Linked DNA regions of Homo sapiens: all the other regions are linked to region 6. Evidence: promoter capture Hi-C in human tissues and cell types (Jung and others, 2019). All regions are on one chromosome and are shown on one strand. Each heading gives the region's core, a stretch centred on a gene start or on the middle of the fragment in contact. The rest is flanking DNA. Distances are from core to core; before and after follow the strand shown.

Region 1 (4,053 bases), core at 1,201-3,700, 610 kb after region 6:
TTCCATGGTGTATATGTGCCACATTTTCTTTATCCAGTCTATCATTGATGGGCATTTGGGTTGGTTCCAAGTCTTTGCTATTGTGAACAGTGCTGCAATAAACATATGTGTGCATGAGTCTTTATAGTAGAATGATTCGTAATCCTTTGGGTATATACCCAGTAATGGGATTGCTGGGTCAAATGGTATTTCTAGTTCTAGATCCTTGAGGAATTGCTACACTGTCTTCCACATGGTTGAACTAATTTACACTCCCACCAACAGTGTTAAAGTGCTCCTATTTCTCCACATCCTCTCCAGCATCTGTTGTTTCCTGACTTTTTGATGATTGCCATTCTAACTGGCATGAGATGGTATCTCATTGTGGTTTTGATTTGCATTTCTCTAATGACCAGTGATGATAAGCTTTTTTTCATATGTTTGTTGGCAGCTCCATTATAATCTTAAGGGACCACCATTGTGTGTGCAACCCATCATGGACTAAAATGTTGTTATGACTGTTTCCCTATTCCAAGTAATCTGTTGCTATATAGCAAGCCAGCCCAAGACCTAGAGATGTGAATTTACTTTTATGATCTGCATGGATTCACTGAGTCAGGAAGTGAGACATGGTGATGGCTTGTATGTTCTGGGGATCGCAAGATCTGGGGTTCCTCAGGTTCAATAATTTGTTAGAATAACACAGAGCTCAGCAAAACTGTCATATTCATGATTTTATTTTATTACATAGACTGGATACAGTTAAAATCAGAAACAGAGAAAGGTGTGTAGGGCAGGGTTTGGGAGATGCTGTGCAGAAGCTTTGAGTTTTCCTCTCTCTGTGGAGTCATATGGACAATGTTTGATTGTCCTAGCCATGATGTGTGACGACAGGCATGATGTATTGCCAGTACAGGAAGCCCACTTGAGCCTGGGTGTCCAGGGTTTTTATTTGGCTTTAGTTATATGGGTGAGGCTGAGCACATGAGTGGCTGACCTTATTCTTCAGCCCTTTCAGAGGCCACCATAACTACAGTGTGGCCCAAGGCTTCCATCATACATTGTTAGCATAGACGATCTTGTGTGACCCAAGGCTCCCAGTAAACAAAGACCCTCATCGGACAATATATTCCAACGGCTTAGAGTAGGAGTGTGCAGTCTTTTGGCTTCCCTGGGCCACACTGGAAGAAGAATTGTCTTGGGCCACACATAAAATATACTAACACTAACAATAGCTGATGAGCTTAAAGAAAAAAGAAAAAAAACTCAAAAAATCTCATAATGTTTTAAGAAAGTTTACAAATTTGTTTTGCATTCAAAGCCCTCCTGGAGGCCAGGCACAGTGGCTTATGCCTGTAATCCCAGCACTTTGGGAGGCTGAAGTGGGCAGATCACTTGAGGTCAGTAGTTCCAGACCAGGCTTGCCAATATGGTGAAACCCCGTCTCTACTAAAAATACAAAAAACTATCTGGGCATGGTGGCACATGCCTGTAATCTCAGCTACTTGGGAGGCTGAAGTAGGAGAATTGCTCGAATGTGGGAGAATCGCTTGAACTTGAGAGTTGGAGGTTGCAGTGAGCTGAGATTGTGCCCCTGCACTCCAGCCTGGGCAACAGAGTGAAACTCCATCTCAAACAACAAAAACAACAACAACAACAACAAAACAAAGCCCTCCTGGGCTGTGTGCACCACCACCAACAACAACAAAACAAAGCCCTCCTGGGCCATGTGCACCCCATGGTCCGCAGGTTGGACAAGCTTGGTTTAGAAGTTACCTGCCAGGTATAGGGAAGGGCTGAGCCTTTCTTTGGAATGTTCAGTTTCTGGGTAACCCAGACTCGCTCTGTTTATCCTTTACTGCACAGCTTGTCTTCACACCATGATGTCTTGAATCTCAACTGGAAGACTCAGAAGGTTGGGGACTGGAATCATCTGAAGGCTTCTTCCTCTCTGTATCTGTGTGCCAGGCTGGGATTACTTGAAAACTAGGCTCAAGGAGGCTGCCAGCCAGAGCACCTGTGTGTGACCTCCACATGTGACATGGATGGGCTTCTCACAGCATGATGCTGGCTCTGAGACAGCCAAGATGCGGCCACAGGGCCTTTTCTGCCTTAGCCTCAGAAGTTATGTTGTGTCACCTCTGTTGCATTCTGCAGCTAGCTCAGTCGGTAGAGCATGAGACTCTTAATCTCAGGGTCATGGGTTCGTGCCCCATGTTGGGTGCCAGATGAAGGAGGCCTGCCCCTCCACACCTGTGGGTATTTCTCACAAGGTGGAGACGAGAGACTGAGAAAAGAAATAAGACACAGAGACAAACTATCGAGGAAGAAAAGTGGGCCCAGGGAACCGGCACTCAACATACGGAGGACCCGCACCAACACTGGTCTCTGAGTTCCCTCAGTATTTATTGATTACTATCTCTACTATCTCGGTGAGGGGGATGTGGGAGGACTATAGGGTAATGGTGGGAAGAGGGTCAGCAGGAAAACGTGAGCAAAGGACTCTGTGTTATAAATAAGTTTAAGGAAAGGTGCTGTGCCTTGATATGCACATAGGCCAGATTTATCTTTGACTTTACACAAACATCTCAGTGAAGTAAAGACAGTATTGCCCCCACCATGTCTCACCTCCAGCCATAAGGCAGTTTTCTCCTATCTCAGTAAATAGAATGTACGATCGGGTTTTACACTGACACATTCCATTCCCAGGGATGAGCAGGAGAGAGATACCTTCCTCTTATCTCAACTGCAAAGAGGTCTTCCTCTTTCACTAATCCTCCTCAGCACAGACCCTTTATGGGTGTCAGGCTGGGGGACAGTCTGGTCTTTCTCTTTCCATGAGGCCATATCTCAGGCTGTCTCAGTGGAGAGAAACCTTGGACAATACACAGGCTTTCTTGGGCAGAGATCCCTGTGGCTTTCTGCAGTGCATTGTGTCCCTGGGTACTCGAGACTGGAGAATGGCCATGACTTTTACCAAGCATACTGCCTGCAAACACATTTTTACCAAGGCACATCCTGCACAGCCCTAAGTCCATTAAACCTTGAGTCAATACAATACATGTTTCTGCAAGCATAGGGTTGGGGCTAGGGTTACAGATTAACAGCATCTCAAGGCAGAATAATTTCTCTTAGTACAGATCAAAATGGAGTTTCTTTTGTCTTCCTTTTTCTACATAGATGCAGTAATAGTCTGATCTCTCATTCTTTCCCCCATGCTTTTCTGCCTTAGCCTCGGAAGTTATGTTGTGTCACCTCTGTTGTATTCTGCAGGTACAAGCAAATCACCAAGACTAGCTAGGTTCAAGGGGGAAGGGAATAGGCTCCATCTCTTCGTGTGGGAGTGGCAAGATTTAGCAGAAGGTTTTCTTTGGAATGTGAGATATTATTGTGGTCATCTTTGGGAAATGCAGTCTACCACATGGACACAATAACAAATCGTTTCCTTTTCCCTGAGGAGAAAGCTCCTCTAGAAAAGTGAATATTTCATGTTACTTAAGAAGAAATTTCTTTGATGGGTCATGATATAGATCATATAGAAGTTAGTGCCCCCACAGATAAGCCAGTGGTGTAATACCAAAACCAAACTCAGTGATCAGAGTGCTTCAGGGACCCAGAACAGTGTAGCCAAAGTCCACAGCCTCCTGGGGGTCTGTTTTTATTCAGGGATAAAATGTAGAGATTTTTAAGATGGATGGATTCTATGACCATCATATGGTCTTCCACAAAGAGTCCTCAATATTCTGCTTTTTTTTTTATCAGTGGTTTTCATTTTTTGACCCCAGGTGACATTTGGCAATGTCTGGAGAAATTTTTGATTGTCACACCTGGGAAAGGAGGGTGTGCTAATTGGAGCTAGTGGATAGAGGCTAAGAATGCTGCTAAGCATCCTACAATGACACTACAGTGCCCCAAAATAAAGAATTCTCCAAACCAAAATGTCAATGCCTGTTACAGTCTGTTCCTATGGGATTGAACGAAATGGGACAAATGCAGAAGTGAAGACAAAGACAAAAAGATACATTTTAAAAGAAGGGGTCAGGGGACTCCTTGCTTCTAGTGAGCAAAGACAGC
Region 2 (4,233 bases), core at 1,087-3,586, 830 kb before region 6:
AAGTCCTTTAGAAAAACACCCCTGGATCACCACTAAGATGAAAACAAGTTTTATTGTTTCTAAAAAATACCACTTCTGAAGACAGAGAAAATACATTTACAAATTTTCTTTTTTTTTTTTTTTTTTTTTTGAGACAGAGTCTCGCTGTCACCCAGGCTGGAGTGCAGTGGTGCGATCTCGGCTCACTGCAGGTTCCGCCCCCCTGGGTTCACGCCATTCTCCTGCCTCAACCTCCCGAGTAGCTGGGACTACAGGTGCCTGCCACCTCGCCCAGCTAATTTTTTGTATTTTTAGTAGAGACGGGGTTTCACCGTGTTAGCCAGGATGGTCTCGATCTCCTGACCTCGTGATCCGCCCACCTTAGCCTCCCAAAGTGCTGGGATTACAGGCGTGAGCCACCACGCCCGGCCTCATTTACAAATTTTCTAAATAAACGTCCTGAGAAAAGAGACAAAAGGAAGGGAAATCTTTTCCTTTATTCTCAAAGGAGGAATTATGCCTCTCATTTATTTGCTTGTTTGAGACAGGGTCTAGCTCTGTCACCCAGGCTGGAGTGCAGTGGTGAGATCAGGGCTCACTTCAGCCTCAAAATCCCTGCTTCAACTGATCCTCCCACTTCAGTGCCCAGAGTAGCTGGGACCACAGCAGTGCACCACCACACCTGGCTGACTTTTTTTACTTTTAGCAGAGAAGAGGTCCCCTATGTCGCCCAGGCTGGTCTTGAATCCCTAGGCTCACGTCACCCACCTGCCTGGGCCTCTAAAACCGCTGGGATTACAGGCCTGAGCCACTGCGTCTGGTCTCATCGTAAATTTGATGTTTCTTCTTGTTTTAACAGAATTTGTATTGCTGTGATAGAGGTTCTTTTCAAACTGATGTCTTATCCTTCTGAGTGCCTCAAACTAGAGCCTGTTCAGACGTTATAACAAGTTTATACTGGTTTATTTTGGTACAAAAAGTGTGAAATTTATGCACAAATTTTTCATAATATGTATTTTTCCATGAACTTCTTGAAGACCCTTATACTAGCAAACTGTATTCAAGAGGATATAAAAAGGGATTGTAAACATCCAAGTGCTACCTATTCATGGGATGCAAGGATGGTTCAACATACTCAAATCAATGGGATACACACTTGCACAGAATGACAGATAAAAAACACATTATCTCAATAGATAGAGAAAAAGCATTTCACAGAACTCAATATTCATTCTTCGTAAAAATCCTAAACAATATAGGTAGAGTTTTACCTCAAAAATATAAAAATCATCCATGAAATGACCACAGCTGAAATAACCAATGAAGGAAAATGGAATGGTTTTCCTGTAGGATATCACATGATGCAAGAATGCTCTCACCCCTGATATTCAATAAATACTGGCTGTCCTAGGCAGAGCAATTAAATAGCAAAAGAAATAAAACTCATCCAAATCAGAAAGACAGAAGTAAAATTACATTTGTTGGGGCCGGGCTCATGGCTCACACCCATAATCCCAGCAATTTGCAAGTCCGAAGTGGGCGGATAATGAGGTTAGGCGATCTAACATATTCTTTCAAGTTCTCTTCAAGGTACTCACCATGTTGGCCCACCATCTGGGCCAACATGGTGAAACCCCGTCTTTACTAAAATAAAAAAAATAAATAAATTAGCTAGGTGTGGTGACATGCGCCTGTAGTCCCAGCTACTCAGGAGGCTGAGACAGAATTGCTTGGACGTGGGAGACAGAGGTTGCAGTGAGCAAAGATCATTCCACGGCACTCTAGCCTGGCGACAGAGAGAGACATTGTCTCAAAAAAAAAAATTATTTCCTTGTAGATGATACGACATTCTATATAGAAAATCACTGGCTGGGTGCGGTGGCTCACACCTGTAATCCCAGAACTTTGGGATGCTGATGGGGGCGGATCACCTGAAGTCAGGAGTTCAAGAAAAACCTGGTCAACATGGTGAAACCCCGTCTCTACTAAAAATACAAAAAAATTATACGGACATGGTGGCAGGCACCTGTAATCTCAGTTAGTAGGCAGGAGAATCACTTAAACCCGAAAGGCAGAGGCTGCAGTGAGCCAAGATCGTGCCATTGTACTCCAGTCCAAGTGACAAGAGTGAGACTCCTTCTCAAAAAAAAAGAAAAGAGCCTGGGTAACAGAGTGAGACTGTCTCAAAAAAAAAAGAAAGAAAATCACAAAGAATCAACCAAGATTTTACTGATACTAATAAACCCACTCAATGTATTTGCAGAATACAAAATCAGCACCCAAAATTAGTTGAATTTCCTTACATTAACAATAAATAATGTTTAAAGAAACTTATGAACACACTTCAATTTGCTATGAAACTTAATACTTACAAATAAACTGAATTAAGGAGGTGAGAAGCTTGTACCTTGAAATCTACATTGATCAAAAAAACTAAATAGACATACAACCCATATTGATGGATTGGAAGTCTTAATATTGTTGAATGATTATACAAACAAATGTGATTTAGATTCAACAGATACCCATAAAAACCCGTAACAGTTTTTATTAAAGAAACAAAATACAGGGTGGGAAAAGTGACTCATGTCTGTTGGCCAGTCTGGTCTCAAACTCCTGACCTCAAGTGATCTATTGGTCTTGGCCTCCCAAAGTGCTGGGATTACAGGCGTGAGCCACCCCGCCTGGCCCAATCTTCTTAACATAAACACTTTAATGTCAATTAATGCTTGAACTCAATGTTAAGTCAATTCAAACTCAAGTCAATGCTGAATTGACTCTAATGCCAATTAATGCTTGATGGTTTGCTATACTCATTGCATTTGGAACAATCATCTCAAAAATGAATTTTCTGATGTTCCTTAAGGGGTGATCTCAGACTGAAGACCTTGCCACACTGATGACATTTGTAAGATTTCTGTCCAGTATGGATTCTCTGATGTCTAATTAGGTGTGAACGTGAAGTAAAGGCTTTGCTGCAATCATCATACTTGTGAAGTTTGTCTCCTGTATGAAGTCTCCTGTTTTGCATAAGATGAAGCTAGACTGAAGACCTTGCCACAATCATGACATTTGTAAGGTTTCTCTCCAGCATGAGTTCACCGATGAACTGCAAGGTATGAACAATGTCTGAAAAATTTGCCACATTTATTACACTTTCAAAATCTCTCATTATGGATTCTCCAATGATTTGAAACGGTTGTAGTGTTACTGAAGACTTTGTGATAATCATTACATTAGTAAAGTTTCCCTATACCATGGATTGCCTGATGGTGAATAAGTGTTGACTGCCCACTAAAGGCTTTGCCACACTCAGTACACTTGTAAGGTTTCTCTCCAGTGTGACTTCTAGTTTGTTGGGCCAGGTGTGAATCACGCCCAAGATTCTTGTCACAAACTCTTACATTTGTAAGCTTTCTCTCCAGTATGAATTCTCCTGTCTTTCAAGACTTGATTTACAACTGTAAACTTTGTCACATTCTTCATATTTCTAATGTTTCTTTCCAGTATGAATTCTATGATGACGTGCAAGTTTTGCTTTTCGATTAAAAACCTTGCCACATTCATTACACTTGTAAGGTTTCTCTCCAGTATGAATTGTCTTATGAATTACAAGGACTGAATTGTGACGGAAGGTTTTGCCACACTCATTACACTTGTAAGGTTTCTCTCCAGTATGAATTCTATGATGACATGCAAGGTGTGCTTGTTGATTAAAAACCTTACCACATTTATTACACTTGTAAGGTTTCTCTCCAGTATGAAGTCTATGATGACGTGAAAGGTTTGCTTTTCTATTAAAAACCTTGCCACATTCACTACACTTGTAAGGTTTTTCTCCAGTATGAATTGCCTTATGAATTTCAAGGGCTGAATTGTGACGGAAGGTCTTGCCACACTCATTACACTTGTAAGGTTTCTCTCCACTATGAATTGCCTTATGAATTACAAGGGCTGAATTGTGACGGAAGTTCTTGCCACATTCATTACACTTGTAAGGTTTCTCTCCAGTGTGAATTCTAGTATGTTGTGCCAGGTGTGAATCACGCCCAAAAGCTTTGTCACAAACCTTACATTTGTATGGTTTCTCTCCAGTATGAATTCTCCTGTGTTTTTCAAGGCTTGATTTGCGACTGAAAACTTTGTCACATTCTTCACATTTGTAAGGTTTCTCTCCAGTATGAAGTCTAAGATGGCATGTAAGGGATGACTTCTGACTGAAGGCCTTGCCACACTCATTACACTTGTAAGGTT
Region 3 (4,202 bases), core at 1,703-4,202, 810 kb before region 6:
TAAAAAAGAAATATTTAAAACTAAGATTTATCTCAAAGTAAAACTGCAAAAAAAAAAAAAAAAAAAAGAAAGAAAGAAAGGAAGGAAGAGGAACCAGAAAGAAAAAAAAGAAAATATGTTACACAACGAGAACAAAAGCACTTTTGATGTGCCTTTTGCTTTCATTTTTTGGTGGTGGTGTTTGTTTTTTTGAGATGAAGCCTCGCTCTGCCCCCCAGGCTGCAGTGCAGTGGTACCATTTCGGTTCACTGCAACCTCTACCTCCCAAGTTCATGTGATTCTCATGCCTCAGGCTCCCGAGCAGCTGGAACTACAGATGCATGCCACCATGCCCAGCTTACTTTTTTAGTATTTTTACTAGACACAGGGTTTCACCATGTTGGCCAGAATGATCTCAAACTACTGACCTTAGGTGATTGGCTCCCAAAGTGCTGGGATTACAGGCATGAGCCACCACGCCCAGCTTTGATGTTCCTTTTTTTTTTTTTTTTGAGATGGAGTCTCGCTCTCGCCCAGGATGGAATGCAGTGGCGCAATCTTGGCTCACTGCAACCTCCGCCTCCTGGGTTCAAGTGATTCTCCTGCCTCAGCCTCCTAAGTAGCTGGAATTAGAGGTGCATGCCACCATGCCCAACTAATTTTTGAATTTTTAGGAGCAATGGGATTTCACCATGTTGGTCACGCTGGTCTTGAATTCCTGACCTTGTGATCCTTGTGATCCACCTGCCTCCGCCTCCCAAAGTGCTGGGATTACAGGCATGAGCCACTACGCCCTGATGTCCCTTTTAAAAAGTACTATGGGCCAGGCGTGGTGGCTCATGCCTGTAATCCCAGCATTTGGGGGGCCAAGGCGGGTGGATCATCTGAGGTTGGGAGTTTGAGACCAGCCTGACCAACATGGAGAAACCCCGTCTCTACTAAAAACACAAAATTAGCTGGATGCAGTGGCTCATGCCTGTAATCCCAGCTACTTGGGAGGCTGAGGCAGTAGAATCAGTCTGAACCTGGGAAGCGGAAATTGCAGCGAGCCGAGATTGTGCCATTGCACTCCATCCTGGACAAGAGTGAGATTCCATCTCAAAAAAACAAAAACAAAAACAAAAACAAAAAACAAAAAACGACTATGTAGGCCAGGCACGGTGGCTCCTCTCTGTAATTCCACCTGTAATCCCAGTAATTTGGGAGGCCAAGGCAGGACGATCCTTTGAGGCCAGAATTGAGACCAGCCTGGGAAACAGTGAAACCCCATTTCTACAAAAAAAAAATACAAAACCTAGCCGGACTTGGTGGCTCACGCCTGTGGTCCCAGCTACTCAGGAGGCTGAGGTAAGAGGATCGCTTGAGCCTAGGAGGTCGAGGCTGCAGTTAGAGGAGATCACACCACTGCACCCCAGCCTGGGCGACAGAGCCAGACCCTGTCTCAAACTATAAATTAATTAATTAAATTAAAATTATTACATAATAACAGAAAGTGATTTTTTTCTCCCACTTCACTGCCCCATTTCCTACCTCACCATGGGAAGAGGGAAGAGAGGCTCTCACAATTGAATTAAGTCACTACCCTCTGGCTGAATAGGGATTCCAAGTGGAAGCTGACCTCTAATGCCAAGATTTACAGAATGTATGTGTCTTATAGATAGGAATTTTAAAATTCTCAATATCATCTGTATAATTTAAACAAGTTCTAAGTTATTAGATTATATAAACAGAAGTCAACATATCACAACTAATCATATCCAATGAACTCACCCACTCATCTGAACCCAAAGTCCCCCACCCCTTTTAATCTTTTGAGACAGGCTCTGCTCTGTTGACCAGGCTGGAGTGCAGTGGCATGATCTCTGCTCACTGCAGCCTGGACCTCCTGGGCTCAAGTGATCCTCCTGCCTCAGCCTCCAGAGCAGCTGGGATTACAGGTGTGCACCATCACGCCCAGTTAAATTTTTTTTTTTTTTGACAGAGATGGGGGGGGGGGTCTCACTATTTTGCCCAGGCCGGTCTTGAACTCCTGGACTCAAGCAATCCCTCTGCCCCAGTCTCCTAAAGTGCTAGGATTACAGGCGTGAGCCACTGCGCCCAGCCCCCCTTTCTTCATTACTGTGCTTCCCTCCCTAATTCTGTACATATCTCTCATTCTCCCCTTCTCTCTCTAGCTCTTGTTTTCTTTTTCCCTGGGATCTGCTCCTCCTGCTGTTTTTTGTTTTGTTTTGTTTTTTTCATTTTTGCTCTCTCTTGGCAAATCCCTCACTCATCCTCTACTTTGCCATCTGTTATGGTCTTTCTCATTCTTCTTTTCTCTGTCTCAGGTTTTCTACTGCTCTCTCTCTCAGTCTCCTGATCCCTTTGGCCAACACAATCACAGGAGGGCTTTGGAGTAAGACGCCTGCATCCCGGAGGAGCGCATTTTCCAGGGGCTGGTGCAGGGCAGGCAAGAACACCCGGTGTCATAGGACAGCCCCGGGCACCTCCCCAACGCGGGCTCAGGGTAAGCGGTGACTGCGGTGGGGAGACCTGGGGAGCATAAGGGCCTGGAACGAGGAGGGAGGTGGGGGGCGACGGCGCCTTAAGACAAGACTGGGAGGCGCCAAGGGCGGGAATCCGCCTCGCGGTAAGGACTTTAAAAAGTGCGGGTCGGGAGGAGTCAGAAAAAGGTTTTGAGCAGGGAAACTACGCGATGGGAAGTGTATACATTGCCCTATAGCAGAAAGATTCGGGAAGGGACCATCCTCAGGGCGACTTTAAACCCAAAAGGAAGCGACCCCTGGACTCTGACGAGGACGTCTAAATTTGCTCTAGGTGAAGGAACACGGGTGAGAATTTCCAGGTCTATGGGGACCCCACGTCCCAGGTACAGAAGCGCCGGGGACTTGGGAAGCGCAGACTTAACACAACACAGAGCAAAACTCACCGCTGCGGTGGGACCATCACTCCATGCGATCCGCTTCCGGGTTTGCGCGAATCTGCGCGCGCAGGACAGAAGCCAGGCCTGGGCGGGACCCGCGGGGAGGTAGGCGGGGCCTGAGCGAGGTAGGGGCGGGGCGCGAAGCGGAGAGACCTTCCCCTTTAGAATTGGCAGAAGGCGGGGCCGGGGTGGGACCCGTGCGTCTCTCAACCTCGCTCCCAGCGCCTCTTGTTTTCGAGCTTTGGAGGCGAGACCGGACAGGAAGGCTGAGGCATGATTCAAAAGCCCTGGAATTGTCTGAAACGGGGATGCAAACTAGAATGTGAAATGCAAAGCCCTGCCTGGGTGGAACATACGATTTCATGCTGACGGCCCACAGAACAGAATAGAAATCCTCTCCCTTTCTATTCTCCATTCACTGGGAAAGGAGAGTCCACCCTGTCCTCAGCTTCAGAGATTTCCCTAGGGCCTCCCCCTGGGATGCGGGACGGAGTGCTCAGGCCAGGGAGGAGTGAGGTCACCACCTACTGCTTAAACACAGCAGAGATGCGGGCGCGGGGCGAAAGCCTGAGGTCCCAGCTACTCAGGAAGCAGTGGCAGGAGGATCGCTGAGCCGGGGGGGGGGTCCAAGTTAGCCTGGGCGACAAAGTAACACCTCCTCCGGCAGCGCTCCCTTCCTCGTCTCTCTCTCTCTCCTTTTTTAAAATTTCTTTAAATAAAATTTTTGATTTTGTGAGTTAGGGATCCAACATTATTCATTTTCACGTGGATATCCAGTTAGTTGTCCCAGCACATTTGTGGAAGAGATCTATTACTTTCATTTTTATATTTAGATTTTTCTTTTCTTTTCTTTTCTTTTTTGAGACAGAGTATTTCTCTGTCACCCAGGCTGGAGTGCAGTGGCGAGATCTCGGCTCACTGCAACCTTCACCTCCCGGGTTAAAGTAGTTCTCTTGCCTCAGCCTGCCAACTAGCTGGGATTACAGACGCGCGCCACCAAGCCTGGCTAATAGTTTTGTATTTTTAGTAGAGACTGGGTTTCACAACGTTGGCCAGGCTGGATTCGAACTCCTGACGTCAAGTGATCCACCTGCTTCGGACTCCCAAAGTGTTGGGATTACAGGCGTTAGCCACCGCGTCTGGCCAGGAAAACTCTTAGAAGTTGCGCCTGCATACCACTGGACTCAGCTTGCATGACCACATTCCTTTCAAGGCTCAGAATTATTTAAAGATCCATACATTTACATTGGAATTATTTGATGTTTGAAATATTTAATTTCCTACCGAGATACGGGTACTG
Region 4 (4,123 bases), core at 668-3,167, 620 kb before region 6:
AGCAATTCTTTCGCCTTAGCCTCCAAAGTAGCTGGGACTACAGTTGCATGCCACCATGCCCAGCTAGTTTTTATATTTTTAGTAGAGACAAGGTTTCACCATGTTGGCCAGGCTGGTCCCAAACTTTTGACCTGAAGTGATCAGCCCACCTTGGCCTCCCAAAACGCTGGGATTACAGGCGTGAGCCACCATGCCCGGCCCTTCAGTGAATGTTTTGTTGTGACATTTTAGCCTGCAAATTTTGAAAATTTACATGTTTTCATGTTAGGAAAGATGTATAGCTCATTCTACATCTTTATTGGAGCCTTCTCTGAATGAGGACAGAGTGGATGTTTTACCTTTTCACTGTTGTTATTACTAAACTGTGTATATGTGACGTGAGTGCGTGTTTTTTTATTAAGCACACATCATGATTTTTTTTTTTTTTTTTTTGAGACAGAGTCTCACTCTGTCACCCAGGCTGGAGTGCAGTGGTGCAATCTCGGCTCACTGCAATCTCTGCCTCCCGGGTTCAAGCGATTCTCCTGCCTCACCCTCCTGAGTAGCTGGAATTACAGATGTCCACCACCACACCCGGCTAATTTCTGTATTTTTAGTAGAGATGGTGTTTCACCATGTTGGTCAGGCTGGTCTCGAACTCCTGACCTCGTGATCCGCCCTCCTCGGCCTCCCGAAGTGCTGGGATTACAGGTGTGAGCCACTGCACCCAGCCCACACATCATGATTTTAAATAAGTTTTGTGTTTTTTAGCAATTCAAATTGTATCTTAAATATTTTCTGTGTCCTTAAATTTGTTCTCAGCTATCACATTAATGATTTAATAGTAAGAATAGTTACATATTATGGGCATAAATAGATGTGTGTATATATGTAATTACCTTTTATGAAGTTCCATGTTGTTATTCATGAACTTGTTTCAACTTTGCTCATTTAGATCCTTTTCATGTTCTTTTACTTAACTATTTGATTTTTTTTTTTTTTTTTTTTTTTAGACAGTCTTGCTCTGTCATCCAGGCTGGAGTGCAGTGGCACAGTCTCGGTTCACTGCAAGCTCCGCCTCCTGGGTTCATGCCATTCTCCTGCCTCAGCCTCCTGAGTAGCTGAGACTACAGGTGCCCGCCACCATGCCTGGCTAATTTTTTTGTATTTTTTTAGTAGAGACGGAGTTTCACCATGTTAGCCAGGATGGTCTTGATCTCCTGACCTCGTGATCTGCCTGCCTCGACCTTCCAAAGTGCTGGGATTATAGGCATGAGCCACCACGCCTGGCCAACTATTTGATTCTTTAGGTTTAATTCTTATTCCCAGACACCTGGATTCAGATGCTTGCTCTGACATTTTAGCTCTTTGTCTTGACGCAAGTTTCTTAGAGTGTCTGTCATATACATTTATCTGCTAGTAAGATGGGAACAGATCTTTCTCTCATGGGCTATCATATTCATATACAAGTTAGTACATGCAGGACATTTATTTAGAATAATGCCAGACTGAGCACAGTGGCTTGCGCCTGTAATCCCAGCACTTTAGGAGGCCAAGGCGGGTGGATCATCTGAGGTCAGGAGTTTGAGACTAGCCTGGTCAACATGGTGAAACCCCATCTCTACTAAAAATACAAAAATTAGCCGGGTGTGGTGGTGGGTGCTTGTAATTCCAGCTACTTGGGAGGCTGAGGCCGGAGAATCGCTTCAACCCAGGAGGCAGAGGTTGCAGTGAACTGAGATCATGCCACTGCACTCCAGCCTGGGTGATAGAGCGACTCTGTCTCAAAAAAATAAGTAAGTAAGTAAATAAATAAATAGAATAATGCCTTGCACTTGGGAAGTGCTCAGAAACATCTGTCATTGTTATTGCGATGATCACAGTTTTTAGATTCTGACCTTTCTTTAAAGTCACTGTACACATTTTCATCTCGTAAGACATCACTCATGCTCTAGATCATCTAAATACTGAATATCACTTGGTGTGTTAGACATAATATATAGCACTTCAATAAAGATAACCCGGTGTTGGTTTTTTATTTGTATATTTGTGTATTTTTTGTATTGTCTACAAAACTGAGAAATCAACACTGATTTAAAGACTATCATAACCTCTTATAGAAGAGTATAAGAAGACAGAATTAAGGAAACATTCTGCCCAAAAATACCTGTGTGTGTGAGGATGTGGTGAAAACAGACCCAGTTTCTCCTACTGTACTCTCACAACGGAAAACACATCTGTGATCCCAGATGTCCTGGGTTTTCCCACACACACCAAGGGAGCAATTCTGCACTGGACACCAGCTGAGTGACCTCCTATTCAGTTCAATTCTGACACTGTCTACCTGGACATAGCATCAGATCCCACAGGTTGAGGGCTCAATCCAACAAGAGTGTGCCCACTTCAATGCCAGTTGCAAACACAGATGGTCTCTGCTTCTCACTGACTGGCTTATACATCATGAATTCCCATGACCCCCTCCTCAGGTTTGATTAATTTGCTAGAATGGCTCAGAGAAATCAGGGAAACACTTTATTTATATTGACCCATTTATTATATAGGATATTACAGAGTATACAGATGAACAGCCAGATGTAAGCAGTCTATTGGGTAAGGTATGGGAGAAGGAGCATGGCGTGGTGGTGCATGCCTGTAATCCCAACTACTTGGGAGGCTGAGTGCTGTCTTTGGTGGGGGTCGGTGGGGGCGTCCTCAGAGCCTCCGTGTGTTTCCCTATCCTGAAGCTTGTTCAGGCCCTGTCCTTTCGGGTTATTATGGGGGCTTCATTAAGTGGGCACGATTGCTTACATCTTTGGCTACTGGTGATCAGCCGAGCCTTCAGCCCCCATCCCCTCAGGGTAAGTTGGGGGATGGGGCTCGAAGTCCCAACTCTGTAATCCAGCCTTGGTCTTTCTGGTGACCACCCCGCCATTCTGAAACTATCTTGGGGCCTCCAGCCACCAGTCATCTCATTAGCTTACAAAGGCACTTATCACTCCAGAGATTCCAAGTGAGATGTATGTCAGGAAAGGGGGATGAAGACCATATGTATATTTTATTATATCACAACTTGGATATCGGCCCACTTACTCCAGTTTAATCTATTCTGTCTTCTCATTTTATGTGAAGATTGGAGCTTTTCCTTATATCCCCCTGGTGGATGTGTTTTTCATTTTAGGGACAGGTGACATTCAGGGATGTGGCTATAGAATTCTCTCAGGAGGAGTGGACATGCCTGGACCCCGCTCAGAGGACTTTGTACAGGGACGTGATGTTGGAGAATTATAGGAACCTGGCCTCCCTGGGTGAGGATGACTTTCTTCCAGAAGTCAGGATCTGCCCCTGTGTATCTTTTCATTTTCCATGTGGCTCTCCTGGGAGCTCATGCATTGCTTGGCTGAGACTGAAGCTGTGTTGACTGAAAAATGAAAATCTCCATAATGTGGAAACTGGATTTTAATTTTCCTCTTCCTGATGTCACTGGAGGGTTTCAGGACTTTTAAAATATCCAATTCCCTGTTTTCTATCCCCATGCTTTGATTCAGTGGTTTTGGGATGAGAGCTATATATTTGCATATTATAGTGTTTCCTAACAATTTATAAAGAAGCATTTAGTGGATGAATTTTTGAAGTGTTTTTTTAGATACAGCTGTAAAGTCCTCCCTCCTCATGTAAACATAGGACTGGGACTCTGGAAAATCTACAGCCCATTGTTTTCCTTTCTTTTCATAAGCAGGAATCTCTTGTTTTGACCTCAGTATTATCTCTATGTTGGAGCAAGGGAAGGAGCCTTTCACTTTGGAGAGCCAAGTACAAATAGCAGGAAACCCAGATGGATGGGAATGGATCAAAGCTGTGATCACAGGTAAGAGTTCAGATGGGTAGAGAAAATGCCGTTTATTAAATAGTGTTTGGGAAACTCTATGCAAATCTGAGAGTTCTGTGGGAAAACAAGTTTGAATTCTGTGACCTCAGAACAGAAATCTTTATTTGCCCCCTTTTGTCTATCCTTTAGACTTGTACTAGTTTATCCTTTCACCTTCCAGTGGTGCTGCAGCTCAGACAAAGGCAAAGTCTTTATCATGATGGACAACACTGTTTTCTAGCTTCTGAGAACTCTGGTTCCTTGACTCCGTGTGGCACA
Region 5 (4,299 bases), core at 653-3,152, 850 kb before region 6:
TGAACTGCAAGGTATGAACGATGTCTGAAAAATTTGTCACATTTATCACACTTGTAAGGTCTCTCTTTATTATGGATTCTCCAATGATTTGCAATAGTTGTAGCATTACTGAAGACGTGGTGACAATCATTACATTTGTAAAGTTTCCCTCTGCCATGGATTGCTTGATGGTAAATAAGCGCTGACTGCCTATGAAAGGTTTTGCCACACTCATTGCACTTCTAAGGTTTCTCTCCAGTATGACGTCTATGATGGCATGTGTTAACTCCTTACTGAAGGTCTTGCCACACTCATTACACTTATAAGATTTATTTCCAGTATGAAGTCTATGATGGCGTGTAAGGCATGACTTCTGACTGAAGGTCTTGCCACACTCATTACACTTGTACGGTTTCTCTCCATTATGAATTCTCCTATGTCTTTCAAGATTTGATTTGTATCTGAAAGTTTCATCACATTCTTCACATTTGTAAGGTTTCTCTCCAGTATGAAGTCTATGATGGCATGTAAGGGATGATGTATGACTGAAGGTCTTGCCACACCTATTACACCTGTAAGGTTTCTCACCAGTGTGAATTCTCCTATGTCTTTCAAGGTTTGATTTGAAACTGAAAGCTTCATCACATTCTTCACATTTGTAAGGTTTCTCTCCACTATGAAATTTATGATGGTATACAATGGATGACGTATGACTGAAGATCTTGCCACAATCATTACACTTATAACATTTCTCTCCAGTATGAATTTTCTGACGTATTTCAAGATTTTATTTGAAACTGTAAGCCTTGTCACATTCTCCACACTTGCAAGGTTTCTCTCCACTATGAAGTCTACAATGGCAGGTAAGGGATAACTCCTGACTGAAGGTCTTGCCACACTCATTACATTTGTACAGTTTCTCTCCATTATGAATTCTCCTATGTCTTTCAAGACTTGATTTGAAACGGAAAGCTTCATCACATTCTTCACACTTGTAAGGTTTCTCTCCAGTATGAAGTCTACGATGGCATGTAAGGGTTGACATATGACTGAAGGTCTTGCCACAATCATTACACTTGTATGGTTTCTCTCCAGTATGAGTTATCCTATGACTTTCAAGGTTTGATTTGAAACTGAAAGCTTTGTCACATTCTTCACATTCGTAAGGTTTCTTTCCAGTATGAATGCTACGATGGCATGCAAGGTATGACTTCTGACTAAAGGTCTTGCCACACTCATTACACTTATGTGGTTTCTCTCCAGTATGAATTCTCCTATGTCTTTGAAGGGCTGAATTGTGTCTGAAAGCTTTGTCACATTCTTCACATTTGTAAGGTTTCTCTCCAGTATGAAGTCGATGATGATATGTAAGGGATGACATCTGACTGAAGGACTTGCCACACTCATTACACTTGTAAGGTTTCTCACCAGTGTGACATCTACGATGGCGTGCAAGGTATCGCTTCCGAATAAAGACCTTGTCACATACATCACATTTATATTGTTTCTCTCCTAGATGAATAATCTGATGTTTCCTTAAGAGTGAGCTATAATTAAAGGCTTTGCCACTCTCAATACATTGGAAAGATTTTTCTCTCATGCGTACTTCCTGTCTTTGTGTGAGTAATGAATAATTCAGAAAATTATCCCCATAGTTATTAGATATATGGGTTTTGGGCCTACAAGAAATTCTTTGGGCTGTTGAAACCGAGGAAGCATCGTTGATAGACTTCTCCACTTGATTATTAATTTTCCCTTTGGGCTGAAATATGTGGAGTTCAGACAGATGTGAATGAAAGCTTGATCCAAGCTGATATTTAATAGGCTTGTTTCCAGCATGCCTGTGATCATATTGCTCTGTACTACCCATCAATTTTTTGATTTTTGTCATGGGTGCTTCATGGCCATTTCTTTCATCTTCTTGCCACTGAAACTCAAAGTTATGAATATCTTTCTCAATTTCCTGGAAGGAAAAATCTCCAATGTGATGACGTTCATGTCTTTGCAATGTCCCTGTGTGGATCACTTCTGTATTGCCTTGTGCTGTTGATGAGAACTCCTTCATTGTGCATTTGGAAGAGATACCTACAAAATATAAACACTAATAGGTACACAAAAGACAATACTGATTTTAAACTTCCCAAACATGATCTTCAAAGTTTAGGAACACAAAATCGTAAGATTCTTTAATAAATAAAGGGCGATTACATGTGCTTCAAATTATTATTATGAAAGCTTATTTCCAATATCATGACAAAACACTGAAGGGCACAAACATGTGTAAGCCTAAAATAAGGAGTATTTTTCCACTGTGACCCTAAAGTGTCTAACAGTTTGCAAAAGACATATCACTGTCACATCAATGAAAAGTATATATTCTTCATATTTACAGCATACTTACTGTATACAAATAAATACTAAAGGACCACACAATATAATATACTGGTAAATAATCCACAGCAAGCTCATGTAAGGATAACCAAAATCAATGGAAATTCTGTATTGTTAAATAATCATAGCACTGAGAAGATAAGAAAAGTTTACAAAATTTAGCAAGGCATGGTGGTGCACGTCTGTACTCCCAGCTACTCGCAAGGGTGAGGTACAAGAATTGCTTGAACCCAAGAGGCAGAGGTTGCAGTGAGCCGAGATCGCACCACTGTACTTCAGCCTGGATGACAAAGTGAGACTCCATCTCAAAAAAAAAAAAATATTTTTCTGAATAACTGTCATAAAATTACCTATATCCATGCAGAAAAGGCATATTGTAACATTTAAAATTTTTTTTTTATTTTTGTATTTTTGAGACAATGTTTCACTGTGTCACAACAGGCTGGAGGGCAATGGCCTGATCTCAGCTCACTGCAACCTCCACCTTTTGGGTTCAAGCCATTCTCCTGCCTCAGCCTCCTGAGTACATGGGATTACAGGCACATGCCAGCATGCTTGGCTAATTTTTGTATTTTTAGTAGAGATAGGGTTACATCATATTGGCCAGGCTGGCCTTGAACTTTTGACCTCAAGTGATCCACCCGCCTCAGCCTCCCAAAGTCCTGGGATTGCAGGCGTGAGCCACAGCACCCGCTGGCACTTTGTGACATTAACTAGTAAACTGTGTCAGTTATATTGCATACCACATACCGAAAAGCTTTATGTAAAATCATAAAAATGAATTGGTAAAATAACTGTAACGCATAAAACCAGCAAGCAAATCATAAGTACATTTATACAAACTGCAGAATTCTAAACAATTCCCTGTTAAGAAAAAAGCACAACTTCTACTTACCACCAGCACACAATATAAGAACTGAAATACATGTTAAGATCACTACCTTCTGATGTATGAGGTCAAAAAAATATGCAGCATTATAATGAATAAGAATTCACTAACAGCCGGGTGCAGTGGCTCATGCCTGTAATTCCAGCACTTTGGGAGGCCGAGGTGGGAAGACCATGAGGTCAGGAGTTCAAGAATAGCCTGGCCAACGTGGTGAAACCATAACTCTACTAAAAATACAAAAAAATTAGCTGGGTGTGGTGGCGGGTGCCTGTAATCTCAGCTACTCAGAAGGCTGAGGCAAGAGAATCGTTTGAACCCAGGAGGTAGAGTTTGTGGTGAGCCAAGGTCCCACCACTGCACTCCAGCTTGAGTGACAGGGTGAGACTTCGTCTCTAAGAAAAAAAAAAAGAATTGACTAATAGTGCCGGAGGGTGCAATTATGATGTCACAACTACATTTATGAAACAGCCAGGCAATACAGCAATTCTATATATATATATACATTGCCCTATGTATCTAGTTCACTATGCATAAAATATAAAACATAGAATGTGTACTGGGAAAATTTATAAACTGAGATCAGAGAAAACATTGTATGAAACAAATTAAACAATAAAAACATAAATAAGATGATGCAGGCTCCCTGGTCTGAATGTTTGTATTGGCCAAACGCCATGTTCAGAGTTCTTATTCTCCAATAGGATGTTCCTGCAGATGGGGCCTTTGAGACAATTTGGTCACGGGTGTTGACTACTCGTGAATAGGACTTGTGCTTTCATAAAAAGAGACATTAAAGAGCTCGTTGCCTGTTCCTGTTTCCACCATGTCAGGACATGGCAGGAAGATGGCTGGGCTAAACCATGAGGAAGGCTCTCACCAGGAACCAATGTGGCTGGCACCTTGCTCTTGGATTTCCCACTTTCCAAACTCATGAGAAATAAATTTCTGTGTCTTAAGCCTCCCAGTTTAAGCTATTTCTTTTTTTGTTTGTTTTTGAGACCGAGTCACGCTCTATCACCCAGGCTGGAGTGTAGTGGCAC
Region 6 (3,971 bases), core at 140-2,639:
GTACATATCTCTCATTCTCCCCCTTCTCTCTCTAGCTCTTGTTTTCTTTTCTTTCTCCCTGGGATTCTGCTCTTCATTTTGTACCCCTCTTCTCTTCTGCTGTTTATCCCCCTTCTTCCCTCTATTCCTTCTCTTCCATCTCTTCTGCTCCATCCTCGCAACTTATTTAACCTCTTATTGCTCCTTCTCCCCAATCTTTCAATCGTCCTCAATCTCCATCTATTTCTGCCTCTTCACCCATCTCTGCGCCTCCTCTGCTCTCCCTGTTAAATTCTCTCTTCCCTGATATACTCCCCTGTCCCCACTCTGTGTCACCCCAGATCCCCAGGTGTCCTCCCTGCTGTGTTTCTCCCTCGGTTCTCCTTGACACCAGCACCACTCTGCTCTGTCTGCCCTGGCTCCAAATCCCTCCCTCTCTCCCTCACTCTGATGAGCCTCCCTCTTTGCTGCCACTCTCCCTACCTTGCCGTCCTTCATCTCTGTGTACATCTAGCTTTTCTCTACATTTCTCCAGTTGCTTTTCTCCACCTGCTTTTCTAGGTATTTTGTTGCTTTCTTTTTCCACTTTCACCATATCTTGGCATATCCCTCACCAATCCTCTATTTTGCCATCTGTTATGGGCCTTTCTTATTCTTTCTCTGTCTCAGGTTTTCTACTGCTGTCTGTCTCCTGATCCCTTCGGCCCACACAATCGCAGGAGGGTTTGGAGTAAGACGCCTGCATCCCGGAGGAGCGCGTTTTCCAAGGGCTGGAGCTCGGCAGGCAAGAAGACCCCATGTCACAGGACAGGGCCCTGCGTCCTTCCCAGTGTGGGTTCAATGGAAGCGGTGACTGCGGAGGAGAGACCTGGGGAGCCGCAGGCTCTGGCACGAGTAGGGAGGTGGGAGGAGGGGGGACGGCGCCTTGGGAGAAGGATGGGGTCTGCAAGATCCCAGGACCAGGCAGAGGACGCGGCCTCCCTGGGACTGGGGCTGCGGCGCGACGCTCCAGGGGCCGACGAGGGGTGGCTGGGAGGTGCGCCCCGGGCAAGAATCCACCTCGTGGGTGAAGACTTTAAATAGCGCGAGGAGGGAAGAGTCAGAAGAAGGTTTTGAGCAGAAAAACTACGCAATAGAAAGTGTATACATTGCCCTATAGCAGACAGACCCGGGACGGGACCAGCCTCCAGACGACTTTAAACCCGAAAGGAAGCGACACCCGGCCTCTCACTGGGCTGTCTCAATTTGCTCTGGGCGAAGGAAGACGGGCGAGAATTTCCAGGTCTGTGGGGACCCCACGTCCCAGGGACAGAAGCGGCGGGGACCTGGGAAGCGGAGACTTAATGCAACACAGAGCAAAACTCACCATGGCGACGTGACCTTCACTCCACCCGATCCGCTTCCGGGTTTGCGTTAATCTCCGCGCGCAGGACGGAAGCCAGGCCTGGGCGGGAGGTGGGAGGAGGTGGGCGGGGCCTGGGCGAGGTAGCGGCGGGGCGCGAGGCGCTGAGACCTTGCCCTTTAGAACCGGCAGAGGGCGGGGCCGGGGCGGGGCCGGGGCGGGACTTGCGCGTCTTTCAGCCTCTCTCCTAGCGTCTCTGTTTTTAGGTTGTGGAGGCGAGAGCGCCAGAAAGTCTGAGGCATGATTCCAAAGCCCTGGAATTGTCTGGAACCGGGATGCAAACTAGAATGTGAAATGCAAAGCCCTGCCTGGGCGGCATGTACGATGTCATGGTGACGGCCCACGGAACAGAATAGATGTCCTCTCCCTTTCTATCTCCATTCACTAGGGAGGGAGAGTCCACCCTGAGCTCAGCTTCAGAGACTTCCTTAAAGCCACCGCCAGGGGTGCGGGACGGAGTGCTTAGGCCAGGAAGGAGTGAGGTCACCACCTGCTGCTTAAACACAGCAGAGGCGCGGGGGCGGGAGCCTCAGGTCCCAGCTACTCAGGAAGCAACGGAGAGAATTGCTGAGCCTGGGGTCCCAAGCCAGCCTGGGCGACAAAGTAACACCCACTGCGGCAGGTCTCCCTTCCTAGTCTCTCTCTCTCTCTTTCCCTTTTTTTTTTTTTGGAGACAGAGTCTCACTCCGTCGCCCAGGCTGGAGTGCCGTGGAGTGATCCCAGCTCACTAGAACTTCCGCCTCCTGGTTTCAAGCGATACTCCGGCCTCAGCCTCCCGAGTAGCTGGGACTACAGGCATGCGCCACCATGCCCAGTTAATTTTGTATATTTAGTAGAGACAGGGTTTCACCATGTTAGCCAGGCTGAACTCCCGACCTCAGGTGATCCGCCCACGTCGGCCTCCCAAAGTGCTGGGATTACAGGCGTGAGCCACCGCGCCCGGGCCTTTTCCCTTTTTAAAAAAAAAAAAAAAACTTTTTTAAATAAAATTTTTGATGGTGTGACATAGGGATCCAACATTACTCTTTTCCATGTGGATATCCAGTTAGTTGTCCCAGCACATTTGTGGAAGAGATCTATTACTTTATTATTATTATTATTATTATTACTATTATTGAGACACAGTATTTCTGTTGCCCAGGCTGGAGTGCAGTGGCGAGATCTCAACTCAATGCAGCCTCTGCCTCCTGGGTTCAAGCGATTCTCCTGCCTCAGCCTCGGGAGCAGCTGGCATTACAGGCGCGTGCCACGATGCCCGGTTAATTTTTGTATTTTTCATAGAGACGGGGTATCACTACGGTGACCTGGCCGGTATCGAACTCCTCACTTTAAGTTATTTGCCTGTGTCAGCCTCCCAAAATGCTGGGATTACATGCGTCAGCCAACATGCCTGGCCCAAGAAATATTCTTTACTTTGCTTTTTAAATGTTGACAAAATATAATTGAAAACTAAAAAATATTATCCCAAATGAGAAATCATCTCCACGACGATAACAGAGAAAGAAATAAAAACCATTTTGTTAATAAATAAACCTTAGGACCGGGCATGGGGGCTCACGCTTGTAATCCCAGCACTTTGGGAGGCTGAAGCAGGCGGATCACGAGGTCAGGAGATCGAGGTCATCCTGGCTAACATGGTGAAACCCCGTCTCTACTAAAAATACAAAAAAATTAGCCAGGTGTGGTGGCGTGCACCTGTGTCCCAGCTGCTGGGGAGGCTGAGGCAGGAGAATGGCGTGAACCCAGGAGGCGGAGCTGGCAGTGAGCCAAGATAGCACCACTGCACTCCAGCCTGGGTGACAGAGCAAGACTCGGTCTCAAAAAAAACAAAAAAAAAAAATCAGCCGGGCGTGGTGCCCAGCGCCTGTAGTCCCAGCTACTCGGAGAGGCTGAGGCAGAAGAATGGCGTGAACCCAGAAGGCGGAGCTTGCAATGAGCCGAGATCGCACCATTGCACTCTAGCCTGGGCGACAGAAGAGATTCCGTCTCTAAATAAATAAATCAATAAGCCTTGACCAGAATGTGATGGGAAATAGAGGCAAACAGCTAAGAGGTTGAAAAGAGAGAAAGAAACTTCACTGTTCTATACAACCCATTAAGGACATATTTTCAAGATAAACACTAATCAGTCCTCAGGGAAGAGGACTTGACAACACCCTTGGTCGCACATAGTTCATCCTGGCTCTACTTGGTAATGGAGGTGACCATCTGTGTCAGCTAACTAGCTTCATCCCGAGGGAGGGGAAGAAACCCTAACCCATGTCTTTTTGGCAAGTTTGAGTTTTACAACATGGCGACAGGTGCCCTCTCTGGTCAGGCGCCTACCATACGACAGAAATTGATGTCAGCAGTAAATAATAAAATTTAAAATATATGATTAAGTACAGAGTTAATGTGAACACAAAGCTTGAAGAAAGCCACCTGGAAACATCAACTCCAAATAAATGGGATCAGCGTTCCAAAGTAGAGACGTTAAGGTTTCACACACAGGGAAAGACAGAGATGCTTTAGCAGAATCACCACGTTTTCCATTCAAGACCAGTGCATAGGTTGCAGCAAGTTGATTGGTGATGGATTGATACACTTCAAG

What was found. Contacts are between HindIII fragments. The study calls those that stand out against the background at their distance.
Region 1: a contact is called between a fragment that was not itself captured here and the fragment with the promoter of ZNF808 in region 6, in 4 of the 25 tissues and cell types used here (dorsolateral prefrontal cortex, heart right ventricle, hippocampus and 1 more).
Region 2: a fragment that was not itself captured here is called in contact with the fragment with the promoter of ZNF808 in region 6 in 2 of the 25 tissues and cell types used here (bladder and dorsolateral prefrontal cortex).
Region 3: the fragment with the promoter of ZNF845 here is called in contact with the fragment with the promoter of ZNF808 in region 6 in 1 of the 25 tissues and cell types used here (spleen).
Region 4: a contact is called between a fragment that was not itself captured here and the fragment with the promoter of ZNF808 in region 6, in 1 of the 25 tissues and cell types used here (aorta).
Region 5: a fragment that was not itself captured here is called in contact with the fragment with the promoter of ZNF808 in region 6 in 5 of the 25 tissues and cell types used here (adrenal gland, dorsolateral prefrontal cortex, lymphoblastoid cells and 2 more).

What each region holds. Positions count from the first base shown.
Region 1 is chr19:51,920,293-51,924,345 of GRCh38, reverse strand. No RefSeq gene overlaps it. Among named protein-coding and RNA genes, the nearest start is that of ZNF613, 5.2 kb to the left of the region's middle. The HindIII fragment of the contact is 6,337 bases long and covers 1-4,053 here.
Region 2 is chr19:53,352,825-53,357,057 of GRCh38, reverse strand. ZNF845 (zinc finger protein 845) reads right to left here. Exons shown (of 4, transcript NM_138374.3): 4 at 152-4,233. The coding sequence ends at 3,470. It also overlaps the pseudogene LOC107987264. Among named protein-coding and RNA genes, the nearest start is that of ZNF525, 11 kb to the left of the region's middle. The HindIII fragment of the contact is 6,579 bases long and covers 1-4,233 here.
Region 3 is chr19:53,332,499-53,336,700 of GRCh38, reverse strand. It overlaps ZNF845 (zinc finger protein 845), which reads right to left and starts at 2,952. Exons shown (of 4, transcript NM_138374.3): 1 at 2,909-2,952. RefSeq lists enhancers at 2,464-2,553, 2,824-2,873, 2,972-3,836 and a silencer at 2,944-3,163. The HindIII fragment of the contact is 26,552 bases long and covers 1-4,202 here.
Region 4 is chr19:53,148,402-53,152,524 of GRCh38, reverse strand. It overlaps ZNF347 (zinc finger protein 347), which reads left to right. Exons shown (of 5, transcript NM_032584.3): 3 at 3,158-3,284; 4 at 3,716-3,844. Among named protein-coding and RNA genes, the nearest start is that of ZNF347, 8.6 kb to the left of the region's middle. The HindIII fragment of the contact is 9,121 bases long and covers 1-4,123 here.
Region 5 is chr19:53,378,487-53,382,785 of GRCh38, reverse strand. It overlaps ZNF525 (zinc finger protein 525), which reads right to left. Exons shown (of 4, transcript NM_001348156.2): 4 at 1-2,064. The coding sequence ends at 767. Among named protein-coding and RNA genes, the nearest start is that of ZNF765, 15 kb to the left of the region's middle. The HindIII fragment of the contact is 5,110 bases long and covers 1-4,299 here.
Region 6 is chr19:52,525,086-52,529,056 of GRCh38, reverse strand. ZNF808 (zinc finger protein 808) reads right to left here and starts at 1,389. Exons shown (of 5, transcript NM_001039886.4): 1 at 1,346-1,389. RefSeq lists enhancers at 1,116-1,943, 1,944-2,770. The HindIII fragment of the contact is 14,459 bases long and covers 1-3,971 here.